Regions from separate parts of the Homo sapiens genome. Here regions 2, 3 and 4 are each linked to region 1. The links are contacts of gene promoters, found by promoter capture Hi-C in blood cells and fetal thymus (Javierre and others, 2016). All regions are on one chromosome and are shown on one strand. The core of a region is centred on a gene start or on the middle of the fragment in contact, and the rest is flanking DNA. Distances in the headings are between cores, read along the strand shown.

Region 1 (3,011 bases), core at 141-2,640:
AAAATTCTGGCTGAAATGAACATATTTCTTTGTCCTTCTTTCTTCTCTCCTACCGAGGAGTGAAATTAAAGACAGTGCTAAAGGCATAAGCAAGGCCAGTATGGAAACTTCCAGCAATTTCACCAAAAGTTTTCAGCAAAATATTACAGATTAGAAAACATCTGTTTCAGAATAGCTACCAAGTGCTAAATAAAACAGAAAACAGAAGTTACATCTCATTATCCTGTGACTTCAGGAGTTATCATTCCCACTTGAATATGTCTTGTCATGGGAAATGACCTTCAGGAGGCATCTTCTTTGTATTTCTTACTATATGTCTCCCCACTGTCCCTGAACTATCATTATAAACTTAATTTTTTCTGCACCCAAAGCTTGTGGGAACTAGAATGAACAGAAGAGGAATGAATGAAGCCCTCATTCTTTTCAGCGATTTTCAGCTTAGGACCCAGTTTTGGAACAAGATAGACCCAAATCTACTTCCTGGTTTCCTGCTTAGAAATAAGATGCTTATCCTTTAAGGCAGATTGTCAAGCTCCTTCAATAGAGGTGAATGAGGACACCCATCATCTGCAAATCATTACATCTTCACAAGAGAATTATGATATTCTCCAAATACCATGAAACTTCAATTTTTAATCTTCTAGGGATATCAAATTAAACCAAATTTATCTCTCGCCTGAAGACAGCCTGGAGGACTGAGACTGTAATCTTGATTCCAACTCCACACCAGCCATTAGTTACATTGGGACAAATTCCTTCCCATGATCAGGCTGCAATTTTATCATTGGGAGCACTGGAGTAAATGGTTCCCTAAGATCCTTCTCCATTTTGATGTTCTAAGGATAAATTACTATTGAAGAAATTATTTCCAGTTGTTGGTTCAATCTTCAAAATCACCAAAAGCTTTGATTTTAAGGTGAGGTTATAGGAGTTGGCTCTTGATATTCTATGCCTTGTGCTTCAGAACAGGCAGTCGAAAGGGAGGAAAGTTGGTTTTCCTTGAGATGACTGTCTTGTTCCCTCATTGGTTTGGGATTCTTCATGTTCAGAGGTCCACTGAGAACTTCAGCTTACCATGACTTTCCCTCTTCAATGGTACCACTGTAGTCAGGTGTAAGATGGTGATGTGGAACCCTTCACTGACATTGCACCCAATTCTCCAGATTGTCTTTCCAGTAATTTCTTTCATTTCTCCTTCATCCCTGCGTCATGGTCCCTTTAAGGGAGCGGCCATAGTTGAGTGGTGGGAGCAGCTGCTGGCAGCAAAGAGACTTGCAGGATTTGGCCTACCCATGGCCACTTACCGCGCACGCTCAGGACCGGGGGCTTGGTGGGAAAGGAAGGAGGGACTTAGGGTGCGCCTGCGCATCAGGGGCGCGCGCAAGGGGCTGATTTGGTGATCCCTTTAAGAAACCGCAGGCGGAGGAATTTCTCTGAGAGAAAATAATCCTACTCACGGGGCCCCTTGGAGGCCATTAACCCCCCGAGTCCCGGCCCCCACCCCGTCCCCGGGCAGGCCCTCCCGCCCACGCGCGGACCCGTGGGATCTCAGAAGCTGCGGCCCGGCGCGCGGCATCCGCCCCCTCCCCACTCTCGGCGCAAGGCCCGGCCGGGTCCGGGGAAGCTGCCGCGAGGCGGCCGTGCCTGCAGTGTGGGCGGGGGCCGGGGGGCCGAGAGGTACCGCCGCCACCGCGCGGGGAGCCGCAGCGGTTCCGAGCGGGGCCCAACATGGCGGAGAGAGAGGTGGAGTCCGGCCCCCGAAAGAGGGTAGGTGAGGTGAGGCAGAACTCGGGCGGCGGGGGGCGGGGCGCGGCCCGGGGCCGGGAATGGGCCATACTCAGGTTCGTGGAGGGGTCGCCGAGGCCCAGTTAGGACAAGGTTGCGGGCAGGTCTGAGGCAGCCTTGGGTCCGGAGCGCGCTGGCGAGCGGTCCCTCGGCAGGTGGGACAAAGATTTGGTGCTGGGTGGGGGGGAGGGGAGGGGGCCGTTGTTTGCCTTCCTCCCCCCGACGTTCCCCAGCACTGGGGTGGGATATCTAGGCCCAGGGAGGGGAGGTGTCAGATTCTTAAGTGCATCTTTAGTGCATCTTTAGTACATCAGAGTCTGGAAGTTAACTGGGGAGAGGTCAGGTGGGGGTGGTGGTGGCGGGAATAAGTCGTGGAGGGGTCTCAGGAGAAATAACCGGAGGGTTCTTCAGTAACACCATCGCGAATTCATTTTCCTGCCTCCTTTCCCCTCCCCCCATAGCCGTTATCTAGACCAAAGTCGGGGTGGTGGTCTTACCTGTGAAGAAGTGGGATCGTTGGCATGTCCTGATTTAGGAGAAAGATTTTGGCTACTATGAATGTCATGTTCTAGCCTAGCCTCTTACTCGCAATTAGGGACTTGGAAGAATACGACAAGTTTTCTCATAACAGGGATGTACCCAATCAACCTGCAGAGGTGAAGCCAATTCTACATAGGAGTTGTTTGAATACCTTTTAAAGTTTGTCTGGAAACTTTCCTTATTTAATTCTGAGTGGTTTTTTTCAGATGGCGAACAATACTGTACTATCGATTGAGCAATATCCCTCACTTTTCTTTTACTTCCTCCCCGCTTAGCATGATAAGAAGTAAGTTTCCTTTTAGGAGTCTTCCTTTTGGGAATGGTTTCAGAAACGATCAATTAGCAAAAGGGCAAAAAATTACTACTTTATGAAGAATGCCCTTTCAGCTTAGCGTAAAATTAGTAATCTCGTAATGATGCTACAGCTGATGTTTTGAGTGCTTACTGTGTGCCTGGCACTGAGCTAAGACCTTTATGTGAAGAATTTAACTTCATAGTAACTCCTCCTAGAACCTATTTGCAGATGAGGAAATTTAGGTGTTGAGGGCTTAAGTAATTTACTTAGATCACACAGCTAGTTGCAAGGTTGAGGTAGGATTTGAATCCAGGTTTGTCCCAACTATAGTGCCTGTGTGGGATGCCACAGAGGAGTTTCTTTAATCTGTGTTTCTCTCCTTAAAAGCTTA
Region 2 (3,022 bases), core at 295-2,794, 390 kb before region 1:
AAAGTGTCCTTAAAAGGAGGGGGTATGCCCTTCCTTGTCTCTTCCTCCTTCCCGATCACCAGAATGCAGACATGATGGCTGGACCTCAAGCAGCCATTCTGGAACATGAGACCAAAGGGAAGTGCTAAGTGGGGTGGGGGATGAGGAAAAGATAGAAGGCTCCAGGTCCTGACACTGTGGGGCATCTACCAGACCTCAACTAACTCTCCCTGGATTTCCTCTAAGTAAGAGAGAAATAAACTTCTATCATATTTAAATCACTGTTGTTTGGGGGGTTTTCTATAACTCACAGTCAAACCCACTCCTAACTATAACAGATGAATTTTTAGAATAGTGAAGTTAAGGGCTTATGTCGCTATTTAGTTTTGGATTTGGCAGTATTTGCTGTGGTCTCCACCAACAGCTGTCAGCACAGGATAAAAACTGGCTTCAGCTGTGAATTGTCATTAATGCGTAACAATGCATTCACAATATTTTCTCCCAAGCCTTTAAATGTGGCTGCAGAAGCCTCCTCCCTTTGAGTGCTCCAAGGTGACAATGATTACATTCCTGATGATAATGCAAGTTGTTATCATGGTTACTTCAGGGAGAGTTTCCACTGCGATTCTACTTCAGGGAGAGTTTCTACTGTGATTCTCTGGGGGATAACATAAAAGCCTCTGGGTAGAAGCTGGATTATCCCAAGAGACACAGTATCCAAGGAAAGCTCTATATCCAGAAGTTGTCAAGAGGTTTTGCCAGGAGTATTTGGCAGCAGGCAGGAAGGGTGGGAGGGGGAGTGGGCAGGGAGGGGGAAGGACGGTGTCATTTCAACTAGGCATAGCCTTCAAACTAGCTTCTATAGAAGCTCCTGTGTGAAGGCATCTAAGAGCCTAAACATATAATCAAGCAGGGGTCACTGAACCCACCACTCCAGCCTGGGGGCTGTGACAGGGATGCCAAGGTGGGGCTAGGGTGGGAGATTCAGGAGGAGTCATGAGGGTCAGTCAGAAACCGTCCTAAATTTGCAGGCTCAGGAATGGAGGTAGCATCTGTGCCCAGGGCTTTGGGCAGTCAGCTTCTTATTGCTTTTGCAGGACTGTTCTTGGAATATAACTTAATGGGTATGGAAGCTTCTTTCCCAGGCCTCAAGGGGCCATTCTTTCAGCACATACCCTTCCCAAACTCCCAAAGCTAGAAATGACCATAATGTTAAGGAAAGGGTAGGCAGGTCTTCCTCCACAGAGTTCTCCAGGTGGCCCTTCGTGGGCACAAGCAGGTATGAGTAGGGTTGTCAGATAAAATATAGGACTCCCAGTTGAATTTGAATTTCAGATAAATAACAGATGTTTTTACTATGAGTATGTCCCAAATATTGCATGTGACATACTAAAATGCATTCATTATTTATCTGATCATCAAATTTAACTGGGCATCCTGGTGGTTTTTGTTTCTTTATTTTGGTGGGTTTTGCTGTTGATGTTGTTGGTTTTGTTTTTGCTAAATTTACAATTTAAGATAAGGTCTGTCTGGGAGGAATTAGAGGTGGAAGATACAGGCAGATCCCTATGGTTAGAAAGAGTTGGAGGCAAAAATCCCATTTTCTATGACTTCAGAGGGCCCCTTGCTAATATTCAGCAAGACATCTGATGCATCCTTTTATCATGGCCCAGAGTGTGCTGGGTCTAGGGAAACAGGTGCCATAAGGACATGTTGAGACACGGCTGGTAACTGATTAAGTATGTTCTCTCTCACCACAAGGCCTTAGCATATGCTATTCCTTCTGCCTGGAACCTTATCTCCCATTTTTCACTCAGTTAATTTTTGTTCATCCTTCGGATCTCCACCCAAATGTCACTTCCCAGGGAAGCCATGCCTGACCCCTCTGGCAGACTCAAAGCCCCATAGTCTACACTGTCATGGCTCACATGCCGCTCCTTTGTGGCAGCCGGCACAGCGGCTACATCATTAATGAGATTCTTAGATTAACTTCGTGGTAAGCTTTGCATGGGCAGGAGCTGTCTCTGGTTCTGCTCACCTTTGCATCCTCAGTGCCCAGCACAGTGTTTGGCAAATAATACAGATCCAATAAATATCTGTGGACAGATGAATCTTGGCGGGGGGGTGGGGGTGTGCAGTGGAGATAGAACTGAAGGGGTGCCAGCCCCCTCCCCTTATATTCTAAGCCAAGTCATCACTGACACTGGGCAACTGGAAGGACTCACAGACAATTCCCAGACAGAAGGGACAATAAGTCCAAAATCCTCACCCAAGAGGTGAGCAGGGAACACCCTGAAAGGCAGAAGAGAAGAGACCTTTCCTGCTCAGCAATTTTTAAAACCAAATTACAGAGAGAGAAACAGATACTGGGATGAGCGAGACAGCAGTAAGGACAAGAGAGTCAAAGAAAATGGGGCTGGGCTGTGTGTGGCGGGCCAGGCCTGAATGCTGGCCAGGCGAGGCTGCTGGAATTCATGGCTCGCTTTTATGCACCAGTTGGGGCATGGTGTGTGAGGAGTCAGACTTAAAGTGCCAGGGACATAAGGGACAGAAAGGACTGTGCAGGTGTATGACTAAGGACGCCTGCAGCAGACAGGCCAGGGAGCCTGGCCAAAGAGATGGGCCAGATTTCCCCTCTCCCCACCTGTCACTCCCTCTGAATTCCCAGTGTGATCACCTGTCCCAGGCAGTTTGGTTCTTTCGATGCTTATTCAACACCATGTCCTCTCCTCAGCCCGCCACATCAAGACCTCACCAAGCACTTACACAAGAGCAAGGAAGGCCACGTTCTCTGCCTGTCCCTGCCCTTCCCTGACTTTCACTCCAAAATGCTGCTCAAATTGGCCCACTTCTCTCTGTATCCACTGCTATCAGCCTTACCCAGACCACTGATCAATAGAGTAGACTGAATTAACTTAGGAAGCTCCCACTCACACCCTAAACGCATAGAAATGCTGGGTTTTTAAAAATCAAAAAGGTGTTTTTGCTACAATGCTGGGTTTGAAAATAGGAATGAGAAATGTCCAGGTATCAGAAACAGGAA
Region 3 (2,982 bases), core at 275-2,774, 280 kb after region 1:
GGAGGAGAGGATAGGGAGTGACTGCTAATGGGTACAGGGCTTCTTCTAGGGGTGAGAAAAAAGTTCTGGAATTAGATAGTGGTATATCTCAATTTTAAAAAACTTCTTGGCCAGGTGCAGTGGCTCACGCCTGTAATCCCAGCACTCTGGGAGGCCAAGGTGGGTAGAATGCTCAAGGCCAGGAGTTTGACACCAGACTGGCAACATGGCAAAACCCCATCTCTACTAAAAATACAAAAATTAGCCAGGTGTGGTGGTGCACCCCTGTAGTCCCAGCTACTCGGGAGGCTGGGGTAGGAGAATTGCTTGAACCCTGGAGGCTGAGGTTGCAGTGAGCTGAGATCGTACCACTGCAGTCCAGCCTGGGCAACAGAGTGTGACTCTGTCTCGAAAAAAAAAAAAAACTTCCTCTAATCTCTCTACTACAGAACATCTAAATTCTACCCATCTCTTTAGGACTACCTCTACTTGTTTGTATTGAATGAAATTACTGAGAGGTTCCTTGAAGACAGAGTCTCATCAACTTTCTCCTGGACTATTTCATTAACATGCTAATGGATACCCTAACCTCTAACCCTGACCTCCCTCCCTTTTCCATCCATCTCCATCTCCACAATTACCACTTTTCTATACTCCTGCAAAAATTATTCAGAAATTTACCAGTATTATAGTATATTTAATACAGTATTAATAGTTTTATATTTAATACTAGCATTAAAGTATTATAGTGTTTGCCTTAAGAGGTGCACAAGACAAATCCCTCGGGCATGAAAAGAAAATATTAGAACTCTTCATATTTGCTTCTGTCAATCCCTTTAACATTTTGTTTTTGGCATCTCTTACACATATATAAGACATTAGTATAAAATTACGTGTTATAATGTATAAATTTATATACAGGGGTACATTCTCAATTTTTCAATGGATTAAAGTGCATCATGAAAAAAATTTATAGACCATCTACCTAAAAAGTTTAAAATTGAAGCTTCTTAGCATAGCATACAAGATCCTTTGTGACCTAGCCACCACCTACCTCTTCTGGAGCTGCCATACCAGCTTTGCTCTTTATATTCCAGTAGTGCTAAACTGCTTGTGGAGTTTCTTCTATATACCAGGCTGTTTCACTTTTGTGCCTTTGCTCTTGCATTCCCATTGCATGGGAATACCCTTTGAATCCTTCAAATTCAACCTTCACAACTCTGTTCAGGCATCAGCTTCTCTAGAAGATGCTTCTCTAGAAAGAACTCCTTAGAGCACCCTCTTTGCCTCCAAGCTAAATGCTTCTCCTACGGTTCCAGTAGCACTCTGTGCGTTGCATCTTTTTTTTTTTTTTTTAAGAGACAGGGTCTCCCTCTGTCACCCACACTGGAGTACAGCGACATGATCACAGTTCACTGCAGTCTTGAACTCCCGGGCTCAGGTGATCCTCTCATCTCAGCCTTTCGAGTAGCTAGGACTACAGGTGCCCACCACCACCAGCTAATTTTTTTTATTTTTGTAGAGATGAGGTTTCACTATGTTGTCCAGGCTGGTCTTGAACTCCTGGCCTCGGGTGATCCTCCTGCCTCAGCCTCTCAAAGTGCTAGGATAAGCCAATGCACCTGGCCTCTACCTTTTCACTTGCTACTGGTAGTTATTCCAGAGAAAGGATTGTATTGTACTAATCTTTATTATCCTGGTGCCTAGTCTAGAAGCAGACTCCTAGTAAGTTCTCAAAAAATGGTTCTGAATTGAATAATTTATCTCTGTACTCAAAATACGTATTAACTAACTGTATAATCTCCTTCCCAGAGGTAGGGAAATGTCAGTACAAGTTTTCATAGCCAACTGTTAGCTCTGGGCCTAAGGACATTGGCTTCAGTGATTCTCCCTGTTTCAGATTTCTAGGGCCAATTAGGTCCTTGCATCCCCCACAAACATGCACACATAACTCTTCAGATGTATACATTCTTTCTTTGTATGTGTTAATATATTTGTTAAGATTTTAGTCAATCTTGTTGGTCTCAAAAGCATTGGTCTCCTTAAAGTGCCTTTCCATATCTCTGCTCTGATTTTGTTGTTTTTAAAGCTTAATTCTCAAAGAACAATTCCCTTATTGGTAATTTATTAATTTATTCAGTCAACAAATATTTTATGCATCTACTATGTGCCTTGGTACCCGCTAAGAATATCTAGCATAACTAAAAGAGGCAACATGTCTGCTCTCAAGAAGCTGACAATCTATTGTAGGAATTTCCAAAACTCCTGGGATCACTTCCTATTTGTCTCCAGATGAGAATCCCCAGGTCCAAAACACTATTTTTCAAGCCACTTAACAATAAAATTAAACAGAAAAATAGCCATTCCATGGCACACAAGGAAAACACAGACAGACCATCTTTTATCAAATTGTAATCAATGCTTTCTAACAGTAGGGCTTCAGTACTGAACCCAAAAGTGGAAATAAAAAAGCTCACCATGTCTAAGTCAACAGCTGCCTGGGGCTCTACCAAAGATGGAGCAAACTCCTAAGTGGTAAGCGGGAGTGGAGGATAACTGCAGAGCTGCCTTAATTTGGTTAGTTTTTCAGAAATAATCCATGAGCTAAATAACAGCAGGAATCAAGAATGTATTTTATCGGAAAAAAATGTAAACACTCAGGTAAACACTGAGTAAACTCATGAGTAGAGAAATACTGACTCAGGCTCCCACCAATAGGTTTTTGCTGTTATTATTTTGTTGTTGCTTTTTCAAGTAGGTTGTTTTCCCCCTTATATAAAAAGGAATACAAGTATACCAAAGAAAGGCCTGGAAAACACAGAAAAATATGAAGAGATAATAATTCCTCTAGTCAAAAAAATACATAAATATTTAGTTGTACATCTTGTTTCAGACTGTTTTCTATTACATAATTTTTTCTTCTTTTCACAAAATTGACAGCATATTGAATATGTAGTTGCATAACTTGATTTTATCATTTAATATTAGGAGCATTTTCCCGTG
Region 4 (3,064 bases), core at 407-2,906, 290 kb before region 1:
ATTCTTGATGCCATCATTAGGCAAACTGACCAACATTGAAACTGAAGTGGTTATCTCTGGACCTCTTACATGAGAGAAAAGGTTTCCTTATTGTTTTGACACTACCATTTATTTAGTGTAATCTATCTATCCTTACTATAGGCAGACTACACCACTATGCTTTCAGACTCAGAAGAAAAAAATCCAACTGAGAGTGTCACCTTGCCTGAGGTTCACACTAGTCAGAATGGGAATTAGCATTTTGTAGTGAACATGAAATGGAGTAATAGAGACTTCTTTTCCACCCTCAAAGCAATCTGTAGGCTGATAGCTAGAATATTTGCATAAATAAGTGAACTGTTTCTCACTATAGTCCCTCATGGGAGGTACATCACTTCCCAAAAGCCCACAGCCCTGCCAACCTAAGATAAAGATGGTGGTGACATAATAGCAGGTGCCCTAACGTGTTGTCCACTTTTCCCCTGAGAACTGTCACACATATGCACCCTTCCTACCCCCAAGGACCTCTGGGATTCCTCCCAGGCTTTGGGCCCTGCTGTACCATTCAGCATTTCATGGAGTTGGCTGTCCCTCATCTCCACGTAGGTGTCAAGGAGCACTGGACTGGGTGCCACAGATCACCACCAGAGCTTGATTTCAGGTCCTGTCAAATGACTCAATGCCTACCTGTTAGCTCTGCACATCTAATATGTCAGAGAAAAAAAGGAGTGGGAGGGAATCTCTAATATGTCTCAAAGGGCATAGGCAGAAGCAAGTACTTAAGCTCTGCATACAGAACCTGTACGTTTTAAATATGTATTAAAAACCTTAAAAACATGCATGTGTTTTGAACCAGCACCCTCACTTCTAGGGGAAGAAAATAAGTATGCAAAAGTGATTTACTGTGAGGCTTACGAGAGCAAAAAATTGAGAATAACCCAAATGTTCCTCATGGGGGATTAAATACATTATAGTACATCCTTGCAATGGAATACTATGCAGCCATTAACAGCAATGAGGCAAAAGAGACATGAAACAGTGTTATAGTTTATAAGGTTTTAAAAGGAGGAAATAAAATAGGATATATGGTTTTATTTTCATTTAAAAAAAATATATATCTGTTTAAAGGCACAGAAAAAAGTTCAGAGGTATACTTACACCAAGGCATTAAAAGTGGTTATTTGGGGCATCAGAATTTTGGTTGATTTAAATTTCTTTTCTGCTTATTTTGTATTTTCATATGACATGAGGAATGTTAATATGCATAACATGTACTCCTCACAAAAGAGTAGTAAAGCTAAAAAGAGAAAGCAGTGCCAGGTAGACAAAATGTCTCTTTCAACACTGGCTGACCCTGGATATTATACTGGTAACAAGATGATAGACTCTGTGTTCTACCATGTTCCTGCTGTGACAGCTGCATGGCATAAAGAGACAGAGATGCTCTACTTCCAGGATTCCTTGAATGTACTTAGAGTCTTCTTCCTAGTGGGTCTGACCACCTTCTTAGTCTGGGCTAAGAGCTGGCCGACATTCAGCAGCAGCAGGAACCCCAGGCAGACAATGGCTGGGATACAGGTGCTTAGTGACTCTTTCAGAGCTGCCAAGGTGAAGATAGCCCCTGGAATGGAAAGTGAGGTCCCTGAGGCTCCTTGGAAGAACCCAGGAGATCCAGGAGCTCAGGGCTCTCTAGTTTAGGCTGACCCACTCCAGCCCAAGCCCTCCCATTAAACACCCCCACCACTCCTAACGCACATTCCCAAAACTAGCGGCATTCATCTCTAGCCTCCTGGAGAAAGCAGGACCAGGAAATTAGAAGCCTCTTGAACAACAGCAGCAGTGGCAACAGTTGCCCCTCTCAGAGGACAAGAAAGAAACGGGAATGACCCAGCCAAATAGGGCAGTGGCTAGAGTGGATAGATTTTAGAAAAAAAAATCTCCCTGATCCTTCTCCTTTCCTTTTTTTTTTTTTTTTTTGAGGCAGAGGCTTGCTCTGTCACCCAGGCTGGAGTGCAATGGCGTGATCTCCTGCCAGCCTTCTGAGTAGCTGGGCTACTGGGTTCTGGGTACTGGCTTCAAGCGATTCTCCTGCCTCAGCCTCCTGAGTAGCTGGGATTACAGGCGCGCACCACCACGCCCGGCTAATGTTTGTATTTTTAGTAGAGACGGGGTTTCATCATGTTGGTCAGGCTGGTCTTGAACTCCTGACCTTGTGATCCGCCCGCCTCGGCCTCCCAAAGTGCTGGGATTACAGGCATGAGCCACCGTGTCTGGCCCCTTCTCCTTTCTTAATCCTACATCTACTAAGATTAAGATGGAGGGAAGGACTAGCCCAGGGGCTGTTGGTTGGAGGTATGGGAAAGATCTGAAAATGGGAGAAGCTCCAGAGATGGAAGCAAGCCTGGTAGCAGTGGCAGCAATGGTAACAGATGCCAGGGCATATAGAAGAGCCTGAAGATATCTGGCCTTTGAAGCAACAGCTGTCTTTGTACATCAGCAGTTCCTGTGGGCAGAGCTACTTGAGGGGGACTCCCTAGGGAAATTCTCTGCCTTCCTGTTCAAGGTTCTCCAGCTTCCCTGCTCTCTACACCAATCTGCCAGACACATGCATCAAATGGCAGCTGCTCCTCCATCCCCTCATCCTAGGAGTGGATGTGTGGAGGAAGGAGCAGAGGCGCTGAGCTTGCAATATATCTTCACAAGGCAATACTATGCAGCCATTAGAATTGAGGAGGTAGAAGGTACACTTAACATGTGATAATGTTCTAGCACATTAAGTTTAAAAAGTACCTGTGCTAGGCCGGGCATAGTGGCTCAAGCCTGTAATCCTAGCACTTTGGGAGGCCAAGGCGGGCAGATCACGAGTTCAGGAGATCGAGACCATCCTGGCTAACATGGTGAAACCCTGTCTCTACTAAAAATACAAAAAAATCAGTCGGGCGCTGTGGCAGGCGCCTGTAGTCCCAGCTACTCGGGAGGCTGAGGCAGGAGAATGGTGTGAACCCAGGAGGCGGAGGTTGCAGTGAGCAGAGATAGTGCCACTGCAGTCCAGCCTGGGCGAAAGAGCGAGACTCCATCTCAAAAA

Evidence for each region. Contacts are between HindIII fragments. The CHiCAGO score rates a contact against its expected background, and 5 or more counts as called.
Region 2: a fragment that was not itself captured here is called in contact with the fragment with the promoter of ZMYM4 in region 1 in 3 of 17 cell types (fetal thymus, naive CD8 T cells and naive B cells); the score reaches 7.9 in fetal thymus.
Region 3: a fragment that was not itself captured here is called in contact with the fragment with the promoter of ZMYM4 in region 1 in 1 of 17 cell types (monocytes); the score reaches 5.1 in monocytes.
Region 4: a fragment that was not itself captured here is called in contact with the fragment with the promoter of ZMYM4 in region 1 in 8 of 17 cell types (fetal thymus, non-activated CD4 T cells, naive B cells and 5 more); the score reaches 8.4 in fetal thymus.

Annotation. Positions count from the first base shown.
Region 1 is chr1:35,267,319-35,270,329 of GRCh38, forward strand. ZMYM4 (zinc finger MYM-type containing 4) reads left to right here and starts at 1,391. Exons shown (of 30, transcript NM_005095.3): 1 at 1,391-1,767. The coding sequence starts at 1,729. RefSeq lists enhancers at 1,081-1,140, 1,161-1,220 and silencers at 1,351-1,710, 1,781-1,910. The HindIII fragment of the contact is 2,104 bases long and covers 902-3,005 here.
Region 2 is chr1:34,874,057-34,877,078 of GRCh38, forward strand. All of the region lies in intron 8 of DLGAP3 (DLG associated protein 3), which reads right to left. Among named protein-coding and RNA genes, the nearest start is that of SMIM12, 16 kb to the left of the region's middle. The HindIII fragment of the contact is 868 bases long and covers 1,111-1,978 here.
Region 3 is chr1:35,547,732-35,550,713 of GRCh38, forward strand. The region is part of intron 2 of KIAA0319L (KIAA0319 like); the gene reads right to left. Among named protein-coding and RNA genes, the nearest start is that of KIAA0319L, 8.2 kb to the right of the region's middle. The HindIII fragment of the contact is 1,083 bases long and covers 984-2,066 here.
Region 4 is chr1:34,980,520-34,983,583 of GRCh38, forward strand. It overlaps TMEM35B (transmembrane protein 35B), which reads right to left. Exons shown (of 3, transcript NM_001195156.2): 3 at 861-1,600. The coding sequence ends at 1,425. Among named protein-coding and RNA genes, the nearest start is that of TMEM35B, 3.3 kb to the right of the region's middle. The HindIII fragment of the contact is 4,855 bases long and covers 1-3,064 here.